2 separate regions of the Homo sapiens genome follow, and region 1 is linked to region 2. The links are contacts of gene promoters, found by promoter capture Hi-C in blood cells and fetal thymus (Javierre and others, 2016). All regions are on one chromosome and are shown on one strand. Each heading gives the region's core, a stretch centred on a gene start or on the middle of the fragment in contact. The rest is flanking DNA. Distances are from core to core; before and after follow the strand shown. Region 1 overlaps LOC105375794 (a long non-coding RNA gene). Region 2 holds the start of LY6D (lymphocyte antigen 6 family member D).

What was found. The method cuts DNA at HindIII sites, captures the fragments that hold promoters and counts their contacts. A CHiCAGO score of 5 or more calls a contact.
Region 1: a contact is called between a fragment that was not itself captured here and the fragment with the promoter of LY6D in region 2, in 1 of 17 cell types (naive CD8 T cells). The highest score is 5.6, in naive CD8 T cells.

Annotation. Positions count from the first base shown.
Region 1 is chr8:142,926,895-142,929,890 of GRCh38, forward strand. It overlaps LOC105375794 (a long non-coding RNA gene), which reads left to right. Exons shown (of 2, transcript XR_928730.1): 2 at 1-279. Among named protein-coding and RNA genes, the nearest start is that of CYP11B2, 11 kb to the left of the region's middle. The HindIII fragment of the contact is 1,036 bases long and covers 1,005-2,040 here.
Region 2 is chr8:142,785,126-142,787,934 of GRCh38, forward strand. LY6D (lymphocyte antigen 6 family member D) reads right to left here and starts at 1,414. Exons shown (of 3, transcript NM_003695.3): 1 at 1,340-1,414; 2 at 464-562; 3 at 1-331. The coding sequence starts at 1,391. The coding sequence ends at 96. The HindIII fragment of the contact is 15,715 bases long and covers 1-2,809 here.

The DNA of each region.
Region 1 (2,996 bases), core at 273-2,772, 140 kb after region 2:
TGACTCCTGCATCCGTCTCCTCCTTCTGTGCTCCAGTCCCTCTCCCTGAGGGCAGCCTATTGACCAGGTTGCAAGAAGAACCCAGGCTGACTTTCTCTCCATGGGGCCCTCATCTGATCCACTGAAAATACTCACATATCTCCAGTGCCAGCCTCAGAGGCACAGTTGTTTCCTTTCGGTCAATATTTGCCTGGAGGTTTTTTTTTTTCATTCTGTGACTTTCAACCTTTCTGTAAGTTGTGTTTTAGATATTTCTTATTTAAACATCCTATAGAGATATTGTGTTGTTGTTAGTGTTGTTCTATTTAGTTTGACAATCTTTGTCTTTTAACTCTCAAAGTCCATCCACTTAGTATTTTTGTGATAACTAATGTATGTGGATTATGTTCACTTTATTTTCTGCATTTGGTTTATCCCAAGTTATCCATTTTTAAGTTCCCTCTTTTTCTCTCCTACTTCGGAAGACATATTCTCCATTTCCATTATTTTCATGGTTACCTTAGACATTTTAAAGTGAATTTTGTTAGCCAGGCATGGTGGCACATGCCTGTAGTCCCAGCTACTCAGGAGGCTGAGGCAGGAGGATCTCTTGAGCCCAGGAGCTTAAGGCTGCGGTGAGCTATGATCGCCACAACCCTCCAGGCTGGGTGACAGAGCAAGACCCTGTCTCAAAAATAAATAAATATATAAAGTAAATTTTGTAACTTAAAGTATAACATTACTATTCAGTATCTTCCCATAAAAAAATAAACAAACATAGAAACTTTAGAGCTTTTTAACTCTGGTCACCCTCTTTTGACGGTTATGCTGTTATTGGCCAATATTAAAGTTCTATTTTGGTTTTTTAACAACATAAACTGGATGTTATCATTGTGATCAGAGTTCACGTTTGCCTCCTTTTAGTCACGTGTTTTCTTTGCTCAGATTCATCTCTACACTGGAAGATTTTGGGCTAGGTGAATTCCATTCTTTCTGGAGGTCATTCTTTAAAACATCTTTGGAAAAGCTTCTGTTGGTAGAGATCTCTTTCAGGTCTCTAGGTCTAAAAATGTCTTATTTTAATCTAAATCTTCAAAGATAGTTGTGTTGAGTGTTCATTTCCAGGTAGGCAGTGCTTGTATTTCAGCATTTTGAAGATGTTAGACGCGGCAGGCGATGTTCACTGCCCTTCCACACACGTCCTGTTCTTCCCTGGCAGGTGAACGGGCTCCGTTCCCAGCCTGCCTTGCAGTCTGTGCTCCCCTGTGTCTGAGTTTGGCCAGTGGAACGGGGGAGAAGACACATGTGCCTCCCCTGGCCTGGCCCTACCCCATCTCGGCCTGGCAGCCTCAGATACCACGTGTCGGAACGACGGGTGGAAGGAGGGTGACCTGATTAGGAATGCTCACTTCCGAGTGTCTGTGAGAGGGGCTTCTTTCCCATTGGAGCCATCGTGCACATGTGTTTTGTTGCAGCGGTGGGTGTGCGCCAACCCCTTGGCCACTGTCTCTGGCTTCCGCAGCTGGCGTTGGAACGCCGGCCGTCACGCTGCCATCCCAGGGTGTGGGATGCCCTGGAGGCTACAGGGAGAGCTTTGTTATTGAGATCTCTTCGGAGTCTGTGGAAGAGTTCCTTTTCCCTCACCCTGCTGGGAATTCTCTGTGCCTCTGACTCTTAGTGTTTCATCAGCTCTTTTAAAATTCCTCCAGGACAGTCTGGTAGTTCATTTTGATTGTTCGTTAGTCACACACCTTACGCCTTCTCACTTCTTTAAATGTAGAGATACTATTGGCTTCAAAAGACTGGAAATCAGGAACCCTGGACCTGGTCTTCATGCAGGTGGGCCTGGCTTGCAGCTGTGTTTTCCCTTCTGAGCCTTACTGTTTGCTTTTCTGGTTTTCCAGAAACTGTCACTTGCCCAGGGCCACTTTTTGTATTAAAGGCTCGGCTTGGGGTTCATCAAAGGTGGGGTGACCTAAATCCTAAACCAATTTGAGGGCCTCCATCCTGATCCATAGGAGGGGACATTTCTCACTCCTCATTCCCAGGGTTAAAGAGCCAAGCTTCCTTCTCATCTCCCATGCTGTTAGATAGAATATTTCTGGACCACATTTTCACTGAAGTTGTAGTCTTGAAAGTTAAGGCTTTATGTGGGGCTTTCAACTCGTTTCTTTCTTTCTTTTTTTTTTTTAGAGACAGAGTCTTGCTCTGTTGCCCAGGCTGGAGAGCAGTGGCACTATCTCAGCTCACTGCAGCCTCCGCCTCCCAAGTTCAAGCCATTCTCCTGCCTCAGCCTCCCAAATAGCTGGGACTACAGACATGTGCCACCATGCCCGGCTAATTTCTTTTCTTTTCTTTTCTTTTTTTTCTTTGTATTTTTAGTAGAGACGGGGTTTCACCATGTTACCCAGGATGGTCTCCATCTCCTGACTTTGTAATCCATCCACCTCAGCCTCCCAAAGTGCTGGGATTACAGGAGTGAACCACAGTGCCCAGCCATTCAATTCCAATTTCTAACTTTGCTTGTATCCTAACCCTCACCTCCTTTCCTCCTTAGAACTCAAGCCATCTTTTCACCAAGGTGATGAAAGCGGTTGCCGCATGCACCCCCACTCCCAGGTGATGGCTGTGTTGGCTTCTGTACTGACTGGTTGCCTATCATAATCCCAGAAGACACAACTCCAAATGCCATAATCCCAAATGTTGAAATCCCAAAAGATCAAAATCTCAAAAATACAATTCTGGAAAAATATTGTAATTATTTTAAAGATATTTATTCACATTTTTAAGGGGGACTTGTTTGAGAAACGCATAAAAACATGGCAGAACACTTCCTCAGCCACTTTACGCAATAAAACAGGCAATAAGAACTTCCATATTTTTGCAATCATAAATACTCAGGCCATCACCTGGGAGTGGGAGTGCGTGTGGCAACTTGTAGGAGCCTGGTCACAGCTCGTTCCCAGTCTATCATCATGGTTTGGGGATTCCATCGAAATCTATTCTCTTCTGCACAG
Region 2 (2,809 bases), core at 164-2,663:
GGCTCCTGGCACCCCCGTTGCGGCTGGGGAAGAGAGGTGTGGAATCCCCAGAGAAAGGGAAGGAAAGGCATGAGGGGCCTTCCCTGGGGGGAAGGTCACAGGCTGGGGGCTAAGATGACGGCCAGGAGGCTCAGGGCCAGCCCCAGGCTGAGGGCACTGTGGGCGAGGGCGGTGCGGGTGGGTGCAGCGTTGTGCAGCTTCTCATTGCACAGGTCCTCCTGGCAGCACTGGGTGGAGCTGGTGCCGCTGCTGACCTGGCCTTGCAGGGTGTAGCTGGGTGTGCACGACTCCGCACAGTCCTTCTTCACCAGATTCCCCCTCAGAGGCTCCACTGGGCACAGGTGAGTGTGGTCAGGCCAGGCAGCCACCTCTGCCCCCCACCTCCCCACAACCTTCCAGCCAACACCCACAACAGCCAGGGATGTCCCCCAGCCCCAGGGACACCTGGACAGATGCTACCCACCTGTGTTCGTGGTCTTGCAGAAGCGAGAGCTGGCCGGGCAGACCACAGAATGCTTGCAGTTGCTGGAGCTGGTGCACACGTGGCAGCGCAGGGTAAGGGCTGGCGGGGAGGGAGTCCGGCTCAGCGGGCCCAACAGAGGCCTCCTGGTGACTCAGCAGGGCCTGCTCCCCCACCTGCAGAGACCCCTCCTGGACAGAGGCCCTGCTGCCCTTGCCCTAGGCCCCCAAACCCGGGCTCTGGGTCCTGGCAGGGCATGTGCCCTGAGTGCAGCCTCAGGGGACATGTATTCCAGCCTGGGCCGGCTTGGAAGAGGTGTCCTGCCCTGCCCCTGTCTAGGGTGTGTTGCAAGCCTTTCCTCCAAGGTCTCAGGGAGCTCTGCGACTGCCAAGAGGACACTGGCTCTTGTCCCCACCCCAGGGGATGTCCCTGGAGGAGATGGCTATGTTTCTGAGGGCCTGACGGAGCTAAGGCCCCGGGGGCAGCCAGCTTGGCTGCTCTGAGCCTATGACAGGAAGGGCTTGGTGGCCTTTGGGCTGTCCTGGGCTGTGCTGGGGGAGACCTGGGGACCGGGAGGGGCTGGTGGCAGGGACTAGATGGCCGCTCTCCCAGTGAGAAGCATCTCAAGACAACCCCCTGCTCCACTCTCTCAGGGTCCGTGACTCCAGGAGTCAGTTCTAAGATCCTCAGATTCTGAAACATTGTAAATCTGACACTCGTTAAGATTCGGGCTCCATGTTGTTTTAAATTTGAAGAGTCTAGCACCCACAGTGTCGGGGTTCTCTGTGCCTAGATGTCGTCAGCTCCAGGCTCCTAGTATTTGGTGACCACACAGGCCACAGCCGCCCACCCGCCCGTCCCCTTGGCCCAGCCCCTCACCTGGCCCTGTAGCCACAGCCAGGGCTGCAAGGAGCAGCAATGCTGTCCTCATCTCTGATGTCGTCTGGGAGCAGTGCGGGCCCCTGCATTGCCAAGGCCTTATAGGCACGGGCTGGGCGGGGGTGGGCAGTCCGCCAGCCAGCGGCATTCTGCAGGGCTCTGTGCAAGCGTCAGCCCAGGACGGGCACCTGCCCCACCCTGCCTGGCCCACGCCCACCAGCCTGGCTGTCGCTGGGCGCTGCCCCTGCTGCCCCCCGCCAGGCAGAGGTCTGCCCTCCGCAACGGGGCCCAGTGGCCTCCTGGCCCTGCTGTTCCTGCTGCTGTGCCTCCATCTCTCCCACTTTCACTTCTCTGTCTCTGTGGGTCTTGTTCTCTCGCTGCCGTCCGTTCCTGGGTCACTTTGTCTCTGACCTGCCACCCGCTACCCCCCGCCCCCCACCCCCCACCATCCATCACCATCCTGTGTCTTTGTCCCTGCATTCCCCCCATAGTTCCCTCAATAGAGTTGCAGCCTGTGCCCGGTGCCCTGTGGGTGCCCGTGGGTGTCCAGGGCAGGGGAGGTAGGAAGGGCAGGTGCTGGTCCTACTCTCCTGGCTCTGGGCTCAGGGTTGCTGCCGGGGATGCAGAAGGTCCTTGAGCTGCAAGGGCTCGGGGTGGCTGTGGGCTGATGGGGTGTGTGAGGCAGAGGCAGAGGCAGAGGCCACTCCGAGGCAGGGAGGGCAGCTGGGGCAGCAGTGAGGTGAGCACTGGACAGAGTGAGGACTGTGAGGACCCGGCCCTCGAAGTTGCCTGGGGAGCCCTGTGGGCAGAAGGCCCGGGCTGTGGAGGCAGCAACTCCACCCTGCGTTGTGCAGGGAGAGACTGAGCCCTCCTGGTCTCCACCAGCCCTGCCTCCCGCCCTCCAGGGCCCCAGAAGCCCTCCCCGTGGGATTCCTTCCCCCACTCTCCAGGCCCCTCCTGCTACGTTGGGGGCAGCGCCATCCCGGCCACTTTGTAACTATTGCTCTAGGTGTCCCGGCTCCAGTCTCCCCAAAATCGTGAACTCTTTGGGGCTGGGCCCCAGCACCCAGGGCCTCAAAGCAGGTTCTTGGTCTGCTGCCCGTTGAGTGGAGGCCAGTCCCCGCCTTCACCCTCTTTATACTCACAGGAGGGACTTTCTTTCCCTGGAGACGGGGTCTCTGAGCACCCACCGCCTCGCGCAGGAGCCCACCTCTTGGGGCCCCCATCCACCTGCTCAGCCCAGCACGCTCTGCCGCTCGCCTGTGCTGGGCAGCACCCACCTGAGTGGTGTGGAGGGGCCCACAGACTTGCTTTGCCCCTGCCCTGGCTAGGCTGAAGGTGAGTGGGAGCCGGGGCACAGATGGAGGTCAGCCCTGGGCCCAGCCTCCTGCCGCCGCTGCCACGTGGCTGATGAACAGACAACAACAGGCCCAGGGCAGGGCAGGGCCGGTTCCGAGGAGGGTGGTCCTG